7 separate regions of the Homo sapiens genome follow, and all the other regions are linked to region 7. Evidence: promoter capture Hi-C in 16 types of primary human blood cells and fetal thymus (Javierre and others, 2016). All regions are on one chromosome and are shown on one strand. The core of a region is centred on a gene start or on the middle of the fragment in contact, and the rest is flanking DNA. Distances in the headings are between cores, read along the strand shown. Region 1 overlaps PAM (peptidylglycine alpha-amidating monooxygenase). Region 2 holds the start of GIN1 (gypsy retrotransposon integrase 1). Region 3 overlaps GIN1 (gypsy retrotransposon integrase 1). Region 4 overlaps PAM (peptidylglycine alpha-amidating monooxygenase). Region 5 overlaps PPIP5K2 (diphosphoinositol pentakisphosphate kinase 2). Region 6 overlaps PAM (peptidylglycine alpha-amidating monooxygenase). Region 7 holds the start of CHD1 (chromodomain helicase DNA binding protein 1).

Region 1 (3,202 bases), core at 26-2,525, 3.9 Mb after region 7:
TGGCTCACACCTGTAATCCTAGCACTCTGGCAGGCTGAGGCTCGCAGATCACTTGTGCCCAGGAGTTGGAGACCAGCCTGGTCAACATAGGGAAACCCCATCTCTACAAAAAATAAAAAAATTAGCTGGGAGTGGTGGTGGGCTCTGTTAGTCCCAGCTACTTGTGGGGCTGAGGCAGGAGAATCACTTGAACCCGGGAGGTTGAGGCCATAGTGAGTCATGATGGCACCACTGCACTCCAGCCAGGGTGACAAAGTGAGACAATGTCTCAAAAAAAAAAAAAAAAAAAAAAAGAAGAGAAGAAAAAGAAAAAGAAAAGTGCTTGGAATGGGAGATGAGTTATCCTACTTTGATACTTCTTGTTTCCTCTTTCTACTGATGTCTTTCTCTGCACATCCTTAGGTAAAACTCAAAAATTACTATTGAGATTTTTGCAGGAACCAAATGAGACAGGAAGAAATGTTTTAAACTGCTGTCTAACCTCTAATACTGGTGATGCCGTTTTTGGAGTACCACTAACAGTTTAAAAGTGCTTATCAGAGCAACTCTCGCTGCTTTAATTTGCGTGTACAGATTGCTGTTAGTGTTGTTACTATCTGTTTTGTATCAGGCTAGCTAATTTCCTTGTTTATTAACTAAATGACTTTCTTAATGGCTACCCTTTTGACAAATGAAGAAATCTTAGCTGCTCTGAGAGGGAAAACCAAAATTAAAAATTCACAGTGAAAGGGATGAGGAACATACGTATTTGTGCTGCTGCCGTGTGGTTGGTGTGAGAGAAAAATCTGGTGATTGACCTTGATCCCTAACGGAAAGTCACAAAAATATGTATAATTTGGTCTTCAGCCATAAAATAAATGGCAACTCTCTTCACTTAAAGCAGGGATTTTCATTCCTTTGTTTTGGGTGCGGAAAAGGGAATCTTTTCCAACCTCATTATCAGAGAGTTTAGTGCATTTTTTCCTGAAATGTTTTACAATTTCCATTTTGTCAGACACATTTTGTTGGAGTTCATAGTTTATTAACCATGAGTTATTTTTTTTAGTTTATACTTGAAGATTTAGAGGCCTGTGATATTTTGTTTAAAGGCTTCTAAATGATCCAAACAAATCAGAATATGCACCAGCCTCAGCAAAAACTCCTGTGATCTGTTGACAGATTTTTGGATCTGGGCCCTTGGAAGAGGCACTGGACATTTGTAACAGGAGGTAATTTGAGATCTGTACAAACAAGTTTTTATTTGTTCAAGTTAATGAGGGCAACACCAGTGGAGTTGGACCCTCTGTAGCTAATAGTCTGTGAGCTCCATGGGCCCTTCATGAAGTCAGTCTCCAAAGGTCACCTGCAATCCATGTTAGGAACCAGGTTTGTCGGTCAATAGTCTAGGACTCATAGATCGATCTGTGCCTCTGCAACCAGGGAATCTGACATGGTACCAAAATGTTTATTTATTTCCCAGATGTCATCCCAGAGTTTGGGCAATGAGATTGGATATTTGCAGTTCCACACAGTGGAAATTCACCTTTTAAATAAGGCAAGAAAAATTGATCTTCCTAGTGTCTGGTAGGAGTCTGGTAGGAGTCATCTTTGCTCTTGGTAAGATTATAATTCTCTTACCTGTTTATTGTCATTTTTTTGAGCACCACAGTCAGCCAAATAAGATTAGAGAAAATTGTGAAAGAGAAAGCATTTCTTTCAATTCAGTCCTTTCATTCAACTCTCTTTGTACTTTGCCTCCTTCATTTTCTTTCGTTTGCTCATCACATTCAGAAGCTCACATTCCCTCATCTTACATGAGGGAAGCTATAAATTTCCCTTTTTGAAATAGTCATCTGCTATCTGTGTAACTATGAGCAAGCTGCTTAACCTCTTTGTGCCTTGGTTTTCTTATTTGTAAAATGGTAATAGATATTACCTGTGTCATAAAGTCGTTACATGGATTGAATGCATTAAGGTGTGTCTAACACTTAACTCAGTACCTGGTTGTACAAAGTGCTAAATGACCATTTATCTAATTATTGCTAATGGAACCTAATAATAGAATAATGATAGAGAGCCATATGCTTCATTGCCAAGTTTCAAAATGCTAAACAAAAATGAATTGTGAATTATTTTGAATGTGCAACAGCACAAGGGCTGGTGTTTTGCTTCTTCTGTAAAAAACAGACTTAAAGAATATCTTTAACATACCAAAGGACTGTTGGGTCATTCTTCAGAAGACTACTGGCATAAAAGAGATTGTCCTAAGAATCCCAGGAATAATAATGAGTCTCTTATTTTTATTGGAAAAGGAGACAACAACAGCCATGGAACTGGTTATTTTATGTATCTTCTGTAACTTTCATTTCTCTCATAATAGACATGGTGCTTTTAAAAATCCAATGTGAATGCTCTAAATCATAAGATCATTATTAAATATTATTTTAAAATTAATATGTCATGGTGAGTGTATTTCTGAGCCATCACATTCATAAACATTTAGAATATAACCTCACCCTTTTGCTTAGAGAATACCTTATGCAAAATGATTTTGAAGGACATTTTGTTTCCTAGTATGTGTTTTCAGCAGGTGGCTAATGGCTTTCGACCTGCTGTAGCAGTATACAGAACTGAATGTCAGGCAGAATATTTTTTAAAGCTGCATTTCCATTTTGCATAATGAAGCACAATAATTTTTCTGAGAGTGCCTTGAATATTTTTCCAAAGAATTATTGATAGAGATATGTCATTTTGGTAGGAAAGAGAAGAGAAAATTGGCAATGTTCCAGCATTTAGGTTTTAAGAATATTTAAGTATAATCAGATTGCTAAATACAAACATTTTTTTAAAATAGTATCAGGTCAAATGTATTTACATGTTAGAAGCCATATAAAGTACATGGTATTAGCCTTCCACCTTTCCTGTATGCTTAGGCCATTGTTCCTACTACTACTACTACTAATAATAACACACTTCAACCTACTCACTTTTCTCTTTAGTAATTTCCATTTTCTCTTGAAATTCATACAGTATATTCTATGGCCTATTTTTATACAACTTTAAGAATTATACATACTAAAGAATAATTTTCAAATTTTGTGTGAAAATAGACAATGGCATATACTATATATAATGACAGAGATTGCTTAGGGCCCCAGGATTAACAGTTTCAGATCATTGTCAATGTTAGCTTCAAGTTAAGTATTGGCACAAGTATTTTTAT
Region 2 (3,186 bases), core at 501-3,000, 4.2 Mb after region 7:
GCTGAAACTGCCTAACAAAGCATTTCTCAGAATTTATTCCATTGCTAAGTGACTCACGACTACAGCTGCAAATAGTTATGCAGTATTTTACTATGATAATCCTCACAGTACTTCATGAAGTAGGTATTAGTTTTATATCCATTTTACAGGTAGGAAAATGGAGGTTCAGAGATTGTCCAATTTACTCAAGGTAATAAAGTGAGTACATGCGCTGACACTTTTAACTTGGTGTCTCTTACTTCAAATTTCACGCTTTTCCCCCCTGCTATACCAGTAAGTCAATTACTTGTTATCCTTAGCTTTTATAATACTTGGTTCAGGCCTCTGTTACACAAATTATAAAGTGATTTTTGTAATCAATAATTTAGATTATAAATGAGGAATGGAAAGAGTTTATTAATTTTTTATGTTTACATTGTTTAACATAATGTTCAGAACACAGTGGACACTCAACTATTTGTGAATGAATAAAGAATTACCTGCATTTCCTGAAAGGAGAATTAAAAATTATAGCAAATATTCCAGAGGTAAATTATTTCACTTTTGAAAACATTACAGTTCACTTTCACATACATGGCACTATAAGTAAACTGTGTCTAAGAAGGTATAGACTTAAGCCTTAGTATCTATGTTTGGAAAAGGACATAATATCTATCCCTTTTTTGCAATTACGAGGATGATTAAAAGTCCTTTGTATATGGTAATGTATAATTATTATCATATCTAAGTATTATCATCCATATCAGGCTGTTTAAAGTAACATAAAACCCTTTCTTTTCCCAAAATCTTCACCTACATGAAAAAATATTTTAAAATCTCTTTCCTTTCATTAATGGTGTTAATGTTTTATAGCAATGTTTATAAAGCTTCAGTGCTAAGAAGAAAATAATCAGAAGACTCACGAATTGTATCCTTTTATAACGATATAACAGTCTAATGCAGTTCACAAACTGCTGGTTCTGGAGGTAGAGAGACAGATGACAAGGAGAAATAGAAAATGCGTAAGAAAGAAAACTCAGTTCACGAAAAGCATAGCCTTTGAAGTAGTTAAAAGTTTTACTGCTAATAATTGGTATTCATATACAAAAGTAACGTAAATGAAAGTTGTTTTTTTTTTTTCAAAGCCCATACATATGAGAAAATGGCTTGAAACTGTAATATTCGAGACAAATATAAATATCTTCTTATACTCTGATTGCTAAGTAAAGGTATCATTTACAAGGGGGATTAAGTGGTTTCTACTACATAAAGAAAGACTGTCCTGGGACTTCTTTGGATATGCTCATATTTTCAAGAATTTCTCTTAAAATCATTACTTAATGTACTTAAACATGTAGGAATAAGAAAAAATGAAAGTGATTGATTACAACTTGTAGTTTTGCAAGAGGAATGTCAGGGTCACATTTGGTTAAGCTTTATACACTTTGTCCCCTCCATAAAAGCAAATAAAATCAACTCATTGCTTAATTCCTTTAATAATTTTGTGTTCAATAAAGTAAGGCAGTTAGGTATTATGTCAAGATTAGGACTTAACTGTTTCACCAAGGGTTAAAAACAAAGCCACCAATTTAAGCCCCTAAAAGGTTATAATACCCGCTGGTTCCATCTTAAAATCTGCAATTTTCAATCAACATGTTAACTTGGATCGGAATTCTGACATTTGAATTATTCTATTTTAAGCTCCAAAAAATGGACACGCACAATTTTATGCAACGTCAAGGACCTGTAAATTTAAATACACTTCTCTGTAATCTGGTTCACTTCAGAGTACAAATTCATTGAACAAAAAAATGCCTTCATCGCCATATGCATTCACATGAAGCCACATGGGATAAATGCATTTCCACTTTAAAAAGTATCTACTTTGGTTCAGAAATGCCCATTTAAGAAAAACCTACACTGAGATAAAGTGGACATTTTTCTTTTAAAACTACGTGACAGGATTCCCTCTTGACCTCACGTTTCTCCCCGCCACGTATTTAAATTTGGGGCAAAATTTCTGATTAAATGACTGATCAAAGTAATGGGGAGAATTCTTCAACGCCGGCCAAAAGTGCTTAGTCTCAAACGCTGTGAGGGAGCATTTCCTAAGCTTTGGGCGACTCGTTAACGGAATCTTAAGGGCAAGGTCCAACCACACTCAGAATCAGCAGGAAAATGACCGTTTGGTAAAACTCAATTACACCCAGTAGGCACCTCCCCAGGCCCGAAACAGCACTCGCCCTTTCTGCTCAGCTAGCGCGGGACATCGCAACGCCCAAGGCCCTCCTATCTCAAAGGCGCTTGCGCAAAATCTCCCCACAGACTCAATTAAACCCTTCCTTAGGCCGGTCGAGGCGAATGGTTTTGAAATTACTGTCGGGTTACGCCTCACTTTAAAAAACAGTAGGTATGACACAGCACACCAGAACGACCACTCACCGAGGTGGTCCTAAATTCAAACGACAGATTTAAGCTTCCTCTCGTGATTTATCTCGCGCTGCCGGAAGCGGAACTACCCGGGTCCTTTAGAGGGCAGTCCTTTGGGGAACCTTGGAACCACGGTCAGAAAGGTTAGGACTGATCATTTGGCTCTTGCCGGAAATCGTTCCGCCCGGTGAGGTTTCGGCGTGAGACCCGAGGAGGGCGGGGAAGAGGCGTGACGGAGATTCCTGAGGTGTAGTAGCCTGAGGTTCCCTTATGTGGCCCTATAGCTGTTACTGAAGGAAGTAGCCTACGTCCACGCCTACAACTGAAGTCTCTTGACAAACACCTCACCCCTGCCTCCGGGATGAAAGGGGGTAACCTAGACCTGAATGGGCTTGACCATCTCACAACTGCTCGCGTGACGACCGCATTCGTGGCAGGTGAGGGCCCAAAACCGGAGGAGAACCGGAGATGCGGAACCTGATCATGCCAGGGTTGAGGCGGCTGCTGGGCTTCTGCTTTGTCTCCTGTGCTCTGCAGACCCTAAACACATGCTCCACCGAGGGGCTTGTGCTGGAGAGAATGACAGCCTGGGCGTGGAGTGACAGTACAGCTTTGAGGGTCCTTTCGCGCCTTGATTTCTCCTCCTGCTCCCCCATGGCTTCCCTTTTTCATTTCTTGGGTTCGAGACGCCAGAAATTGAAGATCAGCTAAAAGGGAACCGCTGAGCTTCTACCCCACGCTGTGCCTGGCTCCACTGAAGTGATTAGCCTCGAGTTA
Region 3 (3,413 bases), core at 597-3,096, 4.2 Mb after region 7:
TTATAACTTTTAACTTATAACTACTATTATTGGTGTTACTATATTATGTGTAGCACTTAAAATGAGTTTACAAAACTTTTAACAGTAAACCCATTAAATATAAAATAATATTTTTTTCCTACCTCACCTTTCAGACTTTTTTTTTCCTTATTATTTTTAGTTGAGTAAACCTTTGGCTCATAAATTTGTCTTTTTAAAAAAGAATATTTCAGACGAGTAGTATCAGAATAACTAAATAGGCAAAGTTAATACAAGAGGGGAAAGCAATAAAAAGAAAACTACATTTCCCAAACTCCCTTGCAGGTAGGGGTGGTCATGTGACATAATTCTAGCCAAAAAGTTGTAAGTAAAAGTTGTTAGGCAAACTCAGCTGGTACTAGCTTTGTTTGCCCAACACTCTCTCCCTTCTTTCTGACTGAAATGTAGGCATTGTGGCATGTGCTCCAGCAGCCACGTTGTGAATACAATAGGAGTGACTCTCAATCACTCCCAATATATATTGGGATAATATATATACAATATATATTAATATATTGAGATAGGGAAAGGAAGTCTGTTACTTGGATTGAATACACTTCCTAGCTGATATACATACTAATTCAGGGTGACTATTTTTAATTCAAAATTAGAAAGAAATCCCAAAGAATAGGTGTCATTTGGGTCAGCTTCAATCTGAGTCTTGATTAATGGTTTGAAATGACCCTTGAAAAAGGCTTTAACTTCTTTGTTTCAAAAGCTTGCCTAGGAATGATCCAGGGAATCCATTTGTGAAATGGTATCTTGACATCCTTACTCTGTCAGCCCCCCAACCATCAAACCAGATATTCCGTCAGTTCTTACAATTTTAGTTTTCTGTAAGACATTTAAAAAAATTAATTTTCCTACTGAATATGTTTGTTCTCTTTCCTTCAGAGGTTTACAAAAAGTTCTTTGTGCATTTTATTGGAACAATTTAGCAAATACTCTAAGCTAAGCCATTAGAAACATCTGTATTTTTATTCAACTATACAATAAACCTCCCACATTGTGTATTATGTTATAATATTTAGCAGTGTTTTCTGCATCAGTATTTGCTGACAAAAGAGTTCATTTTGTACTGTCATCGTTATGCTTTCTGTGTAATAGTGAAGCCATTTTAATCACAGCAAAAAGAACAAGTTTTCCCAATCATATGTCGCTTTTTTGGTTTTTTGTTTAAGCAATCTCACAAAATAGGCCTGCAAATATTTATTGTTACCCTTTATTTTTTATTTTTTTTTTTTGAGACAGGGTCTCAGTCTGTTACCCAGGCTAGAGTGCATGATCTTGGCTCACTGCAATCTCAACCTCCTGGGCTCAAGCGATCTTCCCATCTCAGCCTCCCAAGTAGCTGGACTACAGGTGTGCCCTACCACTCCTGGCTAATTGTTGCATTTTTTGTAGAGATGGCATTTCACCATGTTGCTTAGGCTAGTCTCGATCTCCTAGGCTCAAGCAATCTGGCTGGTAGGATTACAACAGGCATGAGCCACTGAGCACAGCCTATTATTATTATTATTATTATTTTTTTGAGACAGGGTCTCACTGTTGCCCAAACTGGAATGCAGTGGTGCAACCATAGCTCACTACAGCCTTCACCTCCTGGGCTTAAGCAATCCTTACACGTTAGCCTCCTGAGTTGCTGGGACTATGAGTGTGCAACACCACGTCCAGTTAATTAAAAATTTTTTTTTTTTTTGTAGAGACGGAGTCTTGTTGTATTGCATGGGCTGGTCTTGAACTCCTGGTCTCAAGTTATCCTCTCACCTCAGCCTCCCAAAAAGCTGAGGTATGAGCCACCATGCTTGGCCCTATTGTTACCTTTAGAAAAATTTTCAAAGTCCTGGTTTGGTTATCAAATGACTTTAAACACGACTGGAAAAACTGCTAGCTAATCATAATGGCTTCATATTATCATTAGCAAATACCTTGAAACATTATATGCACTTAGGGTAAGGCTCTCCATCAATAAAAGTGGAAGTGAACTGATATTTCAAAGAGTATTCTTGATAATTTTGAATTTTGATGCCTAATTTCCTATCAGATCTGATAACTATAGTCTCCCTTTACCTTCAGAGAATATGTTTCAAGGCCCCTAGTGAATGTTTGATACTGCAGGTAGTACCTAACCCTATTTATACTATGTTTTCCCCTATACATACATACCTATGATAGAGATTAATTTTTAAATTAGGCACAGTAAGAGGTTAACAACTAAAAATAAAATAGGACGATTAACAATATGCCAACATCACTACTCTTGCACTTTGGGGGCATTCTTAAATAAAATAAGGGTAACTTGGATACACACTACTAACCACTACATTTGATCTGATAACCAAGACAGCTATGAAGTGACTAATGATGGGGAGAGAGTAGCATATACAATGAAGATATGCTAGACAAAGAGATGATTCACGTCCCAGTTGGACAGAGCAGGACAGCATGAGATTTTATCACTATACGCAGAATGGTGTGCAATTAAAAAACTTTTAAATCATTTATTTCTGAAATTTTGTATTTAATATGTTTGGACTGCAGTTGACTATAGGAACTGAAACCTCAGAAAGTAAAACTGCAGATAAATGGGGACTATTGTAGTTAATATTTGTATTCATCTCATTGATGTGTCTAACAAAGAGCTGGAAGTTAAATAGACGTGCCGGCGCTATCACTTTCTTGTGGTTGATGATGGGTGTTTGCCTTTTAGTATTATCTGCTTTCACTGCAAAAATCTAAGCTCCCTGGCCATTTTGTGAGTAGTGTGGTGAATGCTAGATGATATCCATACTTTCATTCAACTGCTGAAAGCAAAAGTATGGGTGAGGAAACATGTGGATTCTCACTTTTCTTTCAGGATACCTTCACATAGCATGTGTGACATACATGTCTTGTTGATTGAGTCAGAATGCTATTATCAATCGTATACATTATTAATAAAGCTTCATTTCTTATTTTTGGGATTTAAAAAATATAAATAGAAGTTCCAATAGCCTTCCCCCAAACTGGATGGCCTTTACGTACTCCATTGCTCAGACCACTGCTATGTCAATCAAGGCAGGCAAGACTACCTTGCCTTCATTTACAAAATTATCTTGCTTTATTTGCAAGATTGGCTTTTATATGTTGATTACTTTACCACATAAATCTCCTATTATTATGCAGCCAAATTTAATGTTTTTCCATTGAAGTTTATACCACTATTCCTAGGTTTAGAATGTGACCTCCATTTCTAGAGATTAAATGTCAAATATATTTTTTTCTGTTTCTACTTTAAAAATTAAAATTCTTTTAATTTACCTGAAAATACTTTTGGTATTGGATTCTAAAATCATATTACAGATATAATTTTAAACAATTAGCAAATTGTTACCTGTTAATTAATTACATGATCC
Region 4 (3,234 bases), core at 644-3,143, 3.9 Mb after region 7:
GAAGCAACATTATGAATGGATATAATCTAGAGAGAAAGGGGAGTTTTTTTAGGAACTGAAGACTGTTCAAATCTCATTGTTACTCATTGAGATCTGCCTTGACTATGCTGTTTAAAATTGCAAACATTCACTTCTACTACTTGATTGTTTTGCCCTGCTCTCCTTTTTCCCCATAAACCTTGTTATTATCTAACATATAATTTACTCCCCCAGCCCTATTATCTGTTCCCACTAGAATTGAAGCTCCTTAGGTTGGGATTTTCACAACAGTTTCCTGGGACATACCAGGTGCTCTATAAATATTAGTTAAATGAATAAAATTTCTAGTAAAATCAAGTATTTAAGTGGGAGTTTCTGGAAAAAAAAGACCTAATTGTCTGAGAGAGGGATTCTACTAGAGAATTTAAAAATTAGCCCAAACGAGGCCCTTTCTTCCCAGAAGGAATCTGTAGGTAAAATTCACGATAAGAAAACAGCCCTTCAGCTAAGAGGTAAGTGATTTATACTTGAATATGTGAGGAACATGGAATGTCACCATTCATTCCCGGGCCTGTTTTCCTCTGTAGAGGTATTTTATTTCCCCCCAGAAATAGACAGCATATTGGCTTAAGCCCTTTTTAATTTTCCCTACAAAGCAGAGGTCATTTAAGCTATTGTTTTCTGTTTTTACGGATTATAAAAAGAGAGAAAGTTGGTTTGCTAGATTAGCGATTAACATGGGGTGGTTCTATGTATTTTTCTTCTGTGATGCTGTAAATGAAAGGTCACCTGCCAAATTTCGGTTTGCCCTTGAGAGACCTGCGATCATTCCTTCTGCAGGCGGAATTGTGGAAAACACCTGAATGGCATTGTGCCGTCTTGGGGTTAGCCTGCTAGAGATCAAGTAAGCACCTCTTGGACCCCTGTTAGACAGAAAAAAAATTAAAGGAGAAAGCCTGCACCATAGAGAATTAAAAAGGAGGCGGGTGAGTTGCCTTTCTCCTCTCACCTCCCCACATGTATTTTTTTGAAGAGTTGATTTGTGTTCCCCTGTAATACTTGCATTTGCACTTCTGCATGGTCCTTGATTTTGCCCTATACTTGTATTTATATGTTTATATTCGTTCTATCTTCCCCATAAGATGGTAACATTGTCAAAGGCAAACAGTTTGTCTTTACTTTAAAATTGCCCAGAGCATTCTATATAGTATTTTAGACAAGGAGCATTCAATTAATGTTTACCTGACAAGTAAACAAGAGGAAAAATTAAGGTTTCAGGAAGGAGACTGTAACATTACCAAAAATCATATTAAGGATTCAGAATAATCAAAACTGGCATTTGGTCTCCCTGGCATTTAGAATGAAATAAAAACTAGACCCCATATGATGGATAAAATGAATCATGGGACTGCTCAAGTAGATTATTATTATTGTTTTCCTTCCAAAGCCTGGTCTGTGGCATTTTGTTCCAGAGGAAACTTGAGAGCTGTGGTGATTAAATCTTACCAAATTAGAAACCTCTGAAATGAGTCATTTTTATTTTCATTCACTTCATTTTTACATGGAAGATTGCATAGACAAGCAACCAAATGAACGAAGCTTAGTTTTCTGGTGGGTTGGTGATGACAGTTTTCTCAGTTTGTAGTTGTCGTGGTTCCCATGGTAATATTTTATATGTAGATGCTATACAGGTCAGGTTTACCCGTTTGTGTTTTTGGAGGGAATACTTTGTGTGCATTTGAATCAGGCAGTCCTTAATTCTCAGAGATCTACTAATAGTATGAATATAAGATCAGAATAGAATAGAATTATCTGTTGTGGAAAACTCCTTGGATTTGCCGTCAGAAAACCTGATGGGCTTCTCTCTGTGCCTCTAACTTGTCTTCTGCAAAGTGAAGGAATTGAGTGAGGTACTTTATAATACAAAGATTCTCAACCCTATTGGATCCAGTGTCTCCTTTTTCATAGCATATGTTTTGCAGTGCCCTCTTTATTACCAAGAAATGAAATTTATGTGTAATATAACCTGCCTAAGTGTGTAATTCAAAAATATGCATATATATGTGTGTGTATATATATGTGTATATATATATATGTATATATATAATTCCTAACTTTAATATAAAAGAGCAATACAGGAATAAGTAATTTATAATAAGATAATGTGTATTTCATTCAATATGTAAATGTTTAGTTATGATTACACCATAAGACCTAATGAAGTGTTCAAAAGCTTGATCCTATATGTAGAATAACAGTATGTGTGACAGCTACAAATGCAGATTGATGTCTTTGTTATATTGACCACTCAGATAAAGTATTCCCCCCCTTATCTGTGGTTTCATTTACTGTGATGGTTAATACGTGTGTCAACCTGATTGAACTGAAGGATGCAAAGTATTGTTCCTGTGAGGGTGTTGCCAAAGGAGATTAACATTTGAGTCAGTGGGCTGGGGAAGGCAGACCCACCCTTAATCTGGTGGGCACAATCTAATCAGCGGCCAGTGAATATAAAGCAGGCAGAAAAATGTGAAGAGGTGAGACTGGCCTAACCTCCCAGCCTACATTTTTCTCCCATGCTGGATGCTGGATGTTTCCTGCCCTCAAACATCAGACTCCAAGTTCTTCAGTTTTGAGACTTGGACTGGCTCTCAATGCTCCTCGCCTGCAGACGGCCTATTGTGGGACCTTGTGATCATGTAAGTTAATACTTAATAAACTCCCATATACATATATATATATATATATATATATATATATATACACACATATATATATGTATATATCTCCTAATAGTTCTGACCCTCCAGGGAATCCTAATATAGTTACCCTTGGTCAACTATGGTCCAAAAATTTGGAGAGTTCCAGAAACAAATAATTTATAAGTTTTTAATTGTACACCATTCTGAATAGCATGATGAAAACGTGTGCCCCCTGCTCCATCCAACCCAGGATGTGAATTATTTCTTTGTCCACTGTATCCACATTACATATGCTACCCACCTCACCTGTTAGCCATCTGGGTTATCAAATTTTAAAAGAACATAGCATATATAGGATTCAGCACTATCCACAGTTTTAAGCATTTACTGGGAGTGTTGGAAGATATGCCCCGAGGATCAGGGAAGACTACTGTACCACCATTGGCATTGTTGTTGGTGATGTGATTTTTCCAAAATGATGAGCAATTCTTGGCAAAATTTCAAATAAAACTAAATATTGTCTTTCTTGATTCATGTAGTAACTTCATTTCTA
Region 5 (3,098 bases), core at 83-2,582, 4.2 Mb after region 7:
TGTGTATGAAAAATGCTTTGTAAATATGAGACCTTATGGTTTTTTCACTTTATTTTTTTCTATTCTTCCAGAGAGTAACATTATTAATATCTAAAATTTAAAACATTTTCTCTACATTTACATATTAATTCATATATATGTGTTTTTATATATACAGCTATAGCTATAGAAATGTATGTTCGTTTTAAATGGTTTGAAAAGTAAAAGCGTACCGAAAGCCATTTAATCGTCACTGTATCTATCATATTTTTTTCCTATAGAAAACAATACATACATAACAATCACATTTTACCAAATTAGAATCACTTTTCTCTAGTATGCTGTGAACATTTCTCCATGTCATTAAATACTATTTAAGCATAAGGCTTTTAATGCTTAGGTAATGTTCTATCATTGTGATAATATCAACTTTATTCAGCCATTTTTAAAATACATTTATGTTCTCAGTTTTAATAATTAGTTTCTCAATAAGCTAGAAAAGAATTGTGCATAAATTTGTGTTCTTATTGCTGAATATTTCCTCAGAATACCTTTTTTGAATATTCGAAGTGACATTTGTTTATTTAAAAAATAAAAAGTGTTGAGATATATACCCTTTTTAGTTATAGAACAACAATAATGTCTTTTAAGAAAACTACAATAATATATTCATTGTGAAATGGAGCAATAAAACAATAAGGATGTTTCCCTTTTTCTTCAGGAGAGAAGTATATAGTATTCTTCAAGCTGAAGGTATTTTACTTCCTCGTTATGCTATTTTGAACCGTGACCCAAATAATCCCAAAGGTAAGAGTAAGAGATTTTAGGTAAGCTTCCTTTGCCACTTGACATACTTTTGGGCCACATTCTTACAATAATTAACTGGAAGGAATTTAAAGAATTCATAGTATTCTATTCCATTTTAAAAAATAATCTAAACAGACAAACATATTCAATTAAAAGGTGACACTGAGTTAAAAGGCTACCTAATAATTTAGGAATTATTTATCCTTCTCTTCTTTGGCCTACTTTTGACATATCTCTAAGAATCATGAGTTAGAATTTTGAAATTACATACAAGTAAATGTGTATTGATTAAAGGTGAACAAGTGATTTATCTATGACTATTGAATTAAGTATTAGAAACTTCATGCTACAATGCCAAAAACTAAATACTGGCCAAGAATTTGGAAATACAGTTGGCCCTGGAACAGCATGTGTTTGAACTGTGCTGGTCTGCTTATTCATGGAATAAACATGAATTGAAAATACGGAATTCGTGGGTCCCACATATACTGATAGCCAACTTTTCATTTACATGGATTCTGCAGAGCCAACTGTGGGACTTGAGTATGTGAAGATTTTGGTATACGAGGGGGTTCCTGGAACCAGTCACCGCGTATGACAAGGGGCAACAGTACTTCTAAGTATTTATTAATATTTTAAAGCACTGTTTGCTCCTTTTTTTCTGGTTATCTAAAACATAGCATGGAAGCTATACCTAACTTAGTCACAAGGCAAAATACGTGTTTGTCTTGAGTTAACATTTCTGTTCACACTTAGTATTGTGGGGAATTTTGATGAATTTATCATACCTTAAACCATCTTTTATTAAAAACTAGGGGGGAGGCAGAACAAGATGGCCAAATATACCCTCCAGTGATTGTCCCACTCCCCACAGGAACACCAAATTATAAACTAGCCATGCAAGAATGCACCTTCATAAGAACCAAAAAATTAGTCCACCAAGGTGGTGCCTCTAGGAGTCAGCAAGAGTTTGTAGCATTCCTGGACTTAGGGCGCCCCCTAGTGCTAATACAGCTGCAGTGACCTCAGGCTTAGATCATAACACTTAGTCTTTTTTGAATATGTGGAAAGCTTTCTCAAGAAGGATGGATACAAACAAGCCCAAACGGTGAAGACTGAAATAAATACCTAACTTGTAAATACCCAGACATCAGTGAATGTCTACAAGCATCAAGAACATCCAGAAAAATGTGACCTCACCAAACAAACTAAATAAGGTACCAGTTACCAATCCTGGAGTGATGGAGATATGTGACCTTTCAGACAGAGAATTCAAAATAGCTGTCCTGAGGAAGCTCAAGAACTTCAGTGTAACATGGAGAAGGAATCAGAATTGTATCATGAGAAATTAACAAGGAGATTGAAATAATTCAAAACAAGCCAAAATTCTGGAACTGAAAAATTCAGTTGACAAACTGAAATATATATCAAAGCCTCTCAACAGCAAAGTGGATCAAGTAGAAGAATTAGTGAGCTTGAAAACTGGCTATGTGAAAATCCATAGCCAGAGGAGAAAGAGAGGAAAAGAATGAAACACACTTACAGGACTAAAGAGACCTGAGAGAGGAGCTTGAACAAACTTCCCAGGTAGCACTTTTCATCTTTTTAGCCCACTCCTTTCTTCGTTTTTCTTTAAGAACTTTGGGACCTACGTAGTTAATAAGGGGAAGGGAAAATGTTAAAAAAAAAAAAAAAAATCTTAAAAATAGCCTCAAAGGGACAAATCCAAGAATTAGTGCTCTTAAAGAGAACATAGATCATGGTAGAAAGTTTATTGAAATAAGCAATAACAGAACTTTCCAAACCTAAAGAAAGATACGAATATGCATAGGTCATAGAAGAATATGAAGATTTAACCCAAATAAGACTATCTCAAGGCATATATTAATTAAACTCTCAAAGGTCAAGGATAAACAAAGATCCTTAAAGCACCCAGAGAATAGATGTATATAACATGTAAAGAAGCTCTGATACAACTGGCAGCTGACATCTAAGCAGAAAGCTTATAGGCTAGGAGAGAGTGTGATGGCATTCAAAGTGTTGAAGGAAAAACAAAACTTCCAACCTAGAATATTCTATTCAGCAAAATTATCCTTCAGGCCGGGCGCGGTGGCTCACGCCTGTAATCCCAGCACTTTGGGAGGCCGAGGCGGGCGGATCACGAGGTCAGGAGATCGAGACCACGGTGAAACCCCGTCTCTACTAAAAATACAAAAAATTAGCCGGGCGCAGTGGCGGGCGCCTGTAGTCCCAGCTACTCGGGAGGCTGAGGCAGGAGAATGGCGTGAACCCGGAAGGCGGAGCTTGCAGTG
Region 6 (3,213 bases), core at 275-2,774, 3.8 Mb after region 7:
GCACATTGCCAGTATACAGCTATTGCTCTATGACTCAAGTAGTTATTTTAGTTTCTCCAGGGTAGGGGGAGGGGGGAAGGAATGGAATTTCAGTGGTCCACATTTTAAAAATGAATACATATATAAAAATATAAATACACTCTTCCCCAATATTTTGAAATAGCCATTCCTCAGCTAACTTTTTTCATTCATTTATGCAACAAGTGTTTATTCAGCCCACACTAAACGTTTGGCTTTTTCCTAGGCACTGACATACAATGGTATACAAGACAGTTATAGTCACTTTCTTATGACTGAAAGGTCTAGAGAGGGATGCAGATCTGTAAACAGAGAATTATAAATTTATAAAGAAAATTTTTAAAAAATTATAATGCCATATGATTCATGCCATGATAAGGGTAGTGAAGAGAACCTCAGAAGATAGGATAGCAGGGTCCTGGGTAGGTGAATGTCACACAGTGCATCATCTCATCCTAATTGGGTTGGTGGTGGTGAAGGAAAACTTCCTAGCAGCATGAATACATGAAGACCTGAAGCATGAGTGGTAGTTAGCAGCTGAAGAGGTGGGAAGATTGAAAGAGACCAAAGGGAGCATGATGCCTTAGAATGGAAGTCAGGCAGAAAATGTTAAACAATACATAGGTAAGAGCAGGAGGGAGAGGCGTGGCAATCTGGAGAATCCAAGCTGTCTAAAGGGAAAAGTAGATACTCATTTCAGCCAAGTATTGTCAGGTTGGGATGCAGGCCAAGTGTTGCCAGATGCCTTGATTTCTAAAGAGGAGCTTAAAATTCATATTTTATAAATATGAAATCTCCCAAATATGAACTAACCCAAATGTTTTAAAAACTATTCTGTGGGCCAAACCAGACAAATCTGTAGTTGGAATTCAACCTAGGGCCACCACTTTATGACCTCTACATGTAAGAAACTGAGAGGAGTTTAATGTGGCTAAAGGCATAAACCTTAAACGGACAAGCAAGGGAAGCACTGGCTTTGTGGAACTTGCTAAGGAGGGGTGGCCTAATTCTAAGGACAGTGGGTGACATTGAAGACTGAAACAAGATGAGATTTGTGTTACAAGATGCAGTCTAGCTACTGTATAGAGAATGAGTGGGAGGAGGCAGTGGTGGAAGAAAGATAACCATTTGGAAGCTTACCGTGGTCATAGGAAGAAATTAAGTGTGGCTAAAAGCAAGGTATTCAAGCAGGTGGGAGATGAGTGGATTTCAGAGATATGTATGATACCCCTATGTTGGGATTCAATTCTCCATTAGTCACTCAGACTTTTGCATGTCTTGTGAGCAAAGGCATTTACTGCTTTCATCCCAGACTCTCTTAAAGACATTTGTATGGTAGATAGTTTTGGAAGATAGAGGTATTCTTTCCCTCTGAAGCAAAGGGCAGGTAGGTTTTACTGTCCAGTTTAAAAGATTCAAGTACCCTAAGCTCAGGGTTCCCCTCTGACAATGCAGATCATCAAGTATCTGCTTCACATCACATGGGGGGAACTGAGTTTCAGGACATTGGCACAACTATGCTGATACTACTGCTACTGATATTTTTGTGAGTAGTATAGTCCTTTGTTTCTCACCCTAGAATTTTCTGTCTTCTTCCAGCATCCCCATGAAACTGTGGCACCCTGATTTCGTTAGCCTGCAAGTAGGATAAAAATCTCAGACCCTTAATTATTGATAGCCACTAGCCACATTGTCTGTTTAAATTTAAGTATAAATTAATTAAAAATGGAATACGATTTTAAAAATCCATTCCTCAGTTGCAGTAGCCACATTTCAAATGCTTAATAGCCATACAAGGCTAGTGGATACTGTACTGGGCAGAGAAGATATAGAAAATTTCCATCATTGCAGATAGTTTTATTGGACATTGCTGGTTTAAAGCTTCAAATTTTGTTTGTGTTGGTGAGTGAGTAGAGACAGTAGAAGTTGTTGATTTCGACAGCATAAAAATGATGTTTGACTTCATGTTAGATTCACAGGAGTCCCTTTAATACAAAGAAAATATTTCTGTTTGGATAACCTATACAGTACTTAGTTCAGGCCTCTTGGGGAAAAGAAAAGTGGAAAAGTATCTACACTGTCAATTTGGAGACTGGGCAGACTGGGACCATGTAGCAACAGAAGTTCTACATATAAACAGCGTTACTCAAATCATGTGTGATTGTGAGATTAGGATCTGTGCCCAAAGGAGATTGAACTGCTGAACACTGTCTTGAGCTTTGTCTACTAACCATGCTTAACACAAAAGGACAAGAATTGCATGTTAACAGTGAGGGTCTGGAGCATAGCCAGTCCAGCAGCACCTCGGCAGTGCCTGCTGCAACCCAGCTGTGCTGGTGTGGTCTCACAGAAAGGATGGAGGACAGGAACAAGATTTCCAGATGGCTCTTGTTCAGGGAGTTTAAGAGGGTAGCTTCAAGAAAGGAGGGAACTGGACTCAAAAAATATAAAACATAATACTTTAAAGTACAACTTTAAATGACACCGCAGAATTAAGGAAACAATCAAAGCAGCAGATCTGCTTCCCTATCAGATAGGAGAAGCTCATTTTGTAGAGAGTGTGGGCCACAAGTACTGGGAAGCAAATGCACAAAGAATAATAGGTCCAGCCAACAGTTGCAGTAACAAAGGACGGTTTTTACCTGCATTGAGTGTACAGTTCACTGCTGCATGTACAACATAAGCAAAACAAAAACAGTGGTAGAAATAAATAAAAGTAAAGTCTGAGGCCCTTATGGAAGAATCATACTACTACCTGCTTTTTCCGTGGCTAAAAATGCCTTATAAATTTCATATCTTGAGAATTTCACTTATTTATGCCAAAGTAAGTTTGTTTTAAAATAGTACTCATTTGTAGTGCAGTAACATTTTACTTATATAAAGATTAATTCAAGCTTTTAAAAGTCTGAAGTTTAGAATATTTTAAAGATAGAATTTATTATTTTTAAGCACTTATGTTATCTTTTAGAACTCTTTTGAAGGGAACTTTTATGAAGATATTAGTTAATTTTGAATAGCATGATAATTGTTGCATGTAACTGGAGGCTTCTATAGTGTTTAAAGAAAACTTTTTGTAGGTTATATGTATACCTGTTATTTACATTACTAATTACATCAACAAATCCTTATTTTCATAGACATTCCTTTCAAATTCAGTGAATTCTGGGAGAGCCGAGGTCATATGCTATTAGGGTT
Region 7 (3,353 bases), core at 672-3,171:
TATTTAACAGGTAAACGGATAGTGGGATGATAACATTTAAATAATACTTAACCAGTTTGCACTTGGTTTTTATTTTGTGAAAAAAATTGAAAAGGTAATAGAATATACACTATATCTGATTTTTTACGTAAAAAATTTGGGGCAAGAATAATGAACCAAGACACACCATTTCCACCTTTAAAGATTTCAGTACAACACTGAAGAATCACCTACAAGCCATCCACGAATAAACAAAGGAGATCTCTGGCAGGGGAGGGAGAGGAAGAAGCGGGGGAAGGAGACGTCAGATCCTTCCCCAGCCAGAAAGTACCGAGACAGCCAACTGAGAGCAGAGCTGTCCTCCGACCTCAGCAAAGAGAATTCACTCCTACGATTATTTCCATTCCACAAGAGAGGGAGGGAAACAGATTGTTACCAACTCAATGATAGCAAAGTCTGCATCTGGATCAGGATGTTAATTCTCTAGACTACTGTCCAGTAGACTCTGCAAGAACAGGTTATCTAAAAAGTAACCGTTCTACTCAACATTTATTCCTAATGTTAAATATTAATCTCAACCCTAGTCAAAGTGCCTTACTGAACAATTAAGTCTTAAAAAATCTAAGTATGTTAACAAACTGCCTTTCCCGTTTCTTCCTTTAAAAAGTTCACTCCCCTTTTCGTTCTTTCCTTTTCACCTTCCTTTCGTCCCTCAAAATGGCTTTCTCTGTACATTTTAACTTCCTTTCCCCTCCATCTCCCTTATCCGAATAAGTCCTCTGAGACCCTTTTCACAACCCTGAGTTCTGAAGCTCCAAGCGCACACAGCGCTGTGTCCTCTCAAGCGTCTCCACAATGACTACCCTAAGTTATTAAACCTCTTCAATCCTCTGTCTTTTAGCAGTTGCTTTGCTCCTGCTAAGTTTTTAAAGCGGCACTCGAAAGAGGTTTGGAAACCATCCTCACTCATCCATCCAGCGCGCTCCAATCAGCCTCCCTCGCGGACCTGCCCCCCTCTCCCAGGGCCTCCATCCCGGTCCAGGAGTCCCTCTTCCCGCCTCAAACTTCCCGCAGACCCGCCCCGCGCCCTCCCAGGCTCGCCCGAGCCGCCGCCCCCTCCCCCTCCCGCCGCTCCCCACGTGCTGGGAGCCCGGGTCGCGGCAGGACCCACGCACCGGCTAAGTGCTAGCCATTCGCGGGTCTCCTCTCGCGGCCCGGTCGGCACCAAGCCGAAGAGGCCGGGGCAGGGCCGCCGGGCCGGCGCAAGGATGCGTTCTGCGGCCCCGGCCTGTACTCGCCGCTCACACGCCCCCTGCGCGCCAGGCCCGTACACCGCCACCGGCACTCACAGAGCCACCCGGCCTTCACCCGGCCGCTGGGCCGCCGCCTGGGCACCGCGCCGCGCCCGCCCTCCGCCCGGCCGGTTCCTGTCCTCTCCGCCACATCCTGACCCGCCCGCCGCCCCCTTTCTTACCGGCGGGCTTGGCGGGGCGGAGGGAGCCGACTCGGGTGGACGGCCTCCCCCGCGCCCAGGCCCGGGATCTCCGCCGCCCAGTCCTAGGGCTCCGGCGTCTCGGGGTAAGCAAGAGTCCGTGCGGGGGAGGGGGAAGGGGACAGACGCGGAGGGGAAGGGGAAGCCCCGGTCCGCAGCACCAACGCGCGATCCCCTGCGGAGTGGAGCTAACAATTCATTATTGAAGCACCAAGGGCGAGGGCAGCAAGAGCTATAAGTAACCAGTCGTCGCCGCCGCCGCCGCCGCCGTCGCGCGCGCGCTCCCGCTCCCTCCGCTTATCTGCCCCCGGCAGCCGCCATGACGCCGAGAAAGCAAGCGAGCGCAACCGTCTCCGTCGTAGCCGCCGCCGCCACCGAGGTCGCCGTCGCCTCCGCCTCCCGCGCGACGTAAGCGCCTCTGCTCACTCCCCTTCCCGACAGAGCGCGAGGCGGGCGGGCGCGCGCACGCCGAAGCCTTTCTGCTCGCGCGCGGGAGGCGGGAGGGACTACGTTGAAGGGTCGTGGGCGTAGGAAAAAAGCGATTGGTGCTGGGGCGGGGCGGGGGGGGCGAGTGCGCGCACGCGCACGAATGGGAGTGCGCACGGCGGATGCGCAGAGGCTGTCGGACTCTGACTGCGCGGAGACCGCTGGACTCTGGTCGCGGCCTTAGTCCGCTGATCCTCGCTTGGGTGCCCGCCCTTAGCGGCCCGGCGTTGAATTCCGGGAAGTGGGAGCTTCAGGCTCGCTCCGTGCGGGTATGGGCGCTAATGTCACTTGGGATGGTTGCGCAAGGACATCGCGGCGGACACTGACAAGGAACCGGGGAGGAACGGGGGTGGGGAGAGACTGCGATGGGACTCGGGAAGCCGGGAAGGGCCGCGCTGAATAAGCCTAAGGGGCCGGGTCGCAAGGAGTGTCGGGTAGCACAGGCCTCGGCTCAGTCGGAGCGCCAGGCCTCAGGGTCCGGGCGGGGGCTGCTGCGTCACACCAGGCAGCCTGGGAACGCAACTGTTGGGCAACCGTGGTGGCCTCTCGCCACCTCTTACGCTTGGGCGATCTGCGATTGACGCATCCTGGGAGCTGATGTCCCGCACGGGCGGGGCGCCGGAGGAGGAGAGAAAATAGAGACCCGGTTGTTGACAGCCTGTGATGCCGCTTGATTCATGTGTGGGTGGCCTGGTTTAGAAATGTACCACCCTTCCTTTCTAGGTTCCTCCCCGGAGGGCGGGGTGACGGGTGCGGCGCCGAATCGCAACAAAAAACGCTGCTCGAGGGATGTTAGTAACTGTCTCAGCTTAAGTTGCTGCCTTTTAGCTTACAGTTTGTATCGTAACTGTAATTGTGGATCTTAGTTAAATCCCTTCAGTGTGTTGGAAACATATTTTTAAGTGTATTTTTGAAACATACTTAGAGCATTTTGAAATGCTTTTTTGAAAGCGTTTTTTAAATCAAAATTCTGTTACACTTTATTTTTTTCAGTCTGCAGATGAACTTGACTCACTCAAGGTTAATGATTTTTGTTTTTTATTTATGTTTGTAGAGGCGGGGTTTTGTCATGTTGCTAGGTTGGTGTTGAACTCCTGAGCTCGAGCGATCCACCTGCCACTGCCTTCCAAAGTGCTGGAATTACAGGCGTGAGCCACGGCGCCCGGTGGCCGAGGTTAATAATAATTAAAAGTTTCTAATCCCATTGTTCAGTTATTTGATTTGGTGTAAAGGCGCACTTTCCAAGTCAGATGAGTTTGTGGTAACATACATTCCCCAAATAATTATTTTTCCCTTGTGGGAAATATTCCAGTTTTAGGCTACCAGCTGTTTAAACAGTTTGGTTCAAATCCTTCAAAAAAATCTCAAAACATAACTCCACATATGTATTTACTAC

Evidence for each region. The method cuts DNA at HindIII sites, captures the fragments that hold promoters and counts their contacts. A CHiCAGO score of 5 or more calls a contact.
Region 1: a fragment that was not itself captured here is called in contact with the fragment with the promoter of CHD1 in region 7 in 2 of 17 cell types (total CD8 T cells and neutrophils); the score reaches 5.7 in total CD8 T cells.
Region 2: a fragment that was not itself captured here is called in contact with the fragment with the promoter of CHD1 in region 7 in 13 of 17 cell types (non-activated CD4 T cells, total B cells, total CD8 T cells and 10 more); the score reaches 44.2 in non-activated CD4 T cells.
Region 3: a fragment that was not itself captured here is called in contact with the fragment with the promoter of CHD1 in region 7 in 3 of 17 cell types (erythroblasts, total CD4 T cells and total CD8 T cells); the score reaches 6.2 in erythroblasts.
Region 4: a fragment that was not itself captured here is called in contact with the fragment with the promoter of CHD1 in region 7 in 1 of 17 cell types (activated CD4 T cells); the score reaches 5.5 in activated CD4 T cells.
Region 5: a contact is called between a fragment that was not itself captured here and the fragment with the promoter of CHD1 in region 7, in 8 of 17 cell types (fetal thymus, non-activated CD4 T cells, total B cells and 5 more). The highest score is 16.4, in fetal thymus.
Region 6: a fragment that was not itself captured here is called in contact with the fragment with the promoter of CHD1 in region 7 in 4 of 17 cell types (total CD4 T cells, total CD8 T cells, non-activated CD4 T cells and 1 more); the score reaches 11.0 in total CD4 T cells.

What each region holds. Positions count from the first base shown.
Region 1 is chr5:102,794,920-102,798,121 of GRCh38, forward strand. The region is part of intron 1 of PAM (peptidylglycine alpha-amidating monooxygenase); the gene reads left to right. Among named protein-coding and RNA genes, the nearest start is that of PAM, 41 kb to the left of the region's middle. The HindIII fragment of the contact is 8,006 bases long and covers 1-3,202 here.
Region 2 is chr5:103,117,643-103,120,828 of GRCh38, forward strand. It overlaps GIN1 (gypsy retrotransposon integrase 1), which reads right to left and starts at 2,496. Exons shown (of 8, transcript NM_017676.2): 1 at 2,422-2,496. It overlaps PPIP5K2 (diphosphoinositol pentakisphosphate kinase 2), which reads left to right and starts at 2,659. Exons shown (of 31, transcript NM_001276277.3): 1 at 2,659-2,846. RefSeq lists enhancers at 1,632-2,133, 2,134-2,634, 2,470-2,729, 2,760-2,949, 3,000-3,059. The HindIII fragment of the contact is 679 bases long and covers 1,412-2,090 here.
Region 3 is chr5:103,098,863-103,102,275 of GRCh38, forward strand. All of the region lies in intron 4 of GIN1 (gypsy retrotransposon integrase 1), which reads right to left. Among named protein-coding and RNA genes, the nearest start is that of GIN1, 20 kb to the right of the region's middle. The HindIII fragment of the contact is 2,224 bases long and covers 735-2,958 here.
Region 4 is chr5:102,777,178-102,780,411 of GRCh38, forward strand. The region is part of intron 1 of PAM (peptidylglycine alpha-amidating monooxygenase); the gene reads left to right. Among named protein-coding and RNA genes, the nearest start is that of PAM, 23 kb to the left of the region's middle. The HindIII fragment of the contact is 634 bases long and covers 1,577-2,210 here.
Region 5 is chr5:103,137,684-103,140,781 of GRCh38, forward strand. PPIP5K2 (diphosphoinositol pentakisphosphate kinase 2) reads left to right here. Exons shown (of 31, transcript NM_001276277.3): 5 at 701-786. Among named protein-coding and RNA genes, the nearest start is that of PPIP5K2, 19 kb to the left of the region's middle. The HindIII fragment of the contact is 1,046 bases long and covers 810-1,855 here.
Region 6 is chr5:102,758,767-102,761,979 of GRCh38, forward strand. All of the region lies in intron 1 of PAM (peptidylglycine alpha-amidating monooxygenase), which reads left to right. Among named protein-coding and RNA genes, the nearest start is that of PAM, 5.1 kb to the left of the region's middle. The HindIII fragment of the contact is 746 bases long and covers 1,152-1,897 here.
Region 7 is chr5:98,927,086-98,930,438 of GRCh38, forward strand. It overlaps CHD1 (chromodomain helicase DNA binding protein 1), which reads right to left and starts at 1,922. Exons shown (of 36, transcript NM_001270.4): 1 at 1,454-1,922. It overlaps CHD1-DT (CHD1 divergent transcript), which reads left to right and starts at 1,477. Exons shown (of 4, transcript NR_151718.1): 1 at 1,477-1,557. LOC100289230 (a long non-coding RNA gene) reads left to right here and starts at 2,049. Exons shown (of 1, transcript NR_036530.1): 1 at 2,049-3,353. RefSeq lists silencers at 1,066-1,695, 1,956-2,165 and enhancers at 1,939-2,837, 2,326-2,655. The HindIII fragment of the contact is 7,543 bases long and covers 1-3,353 here.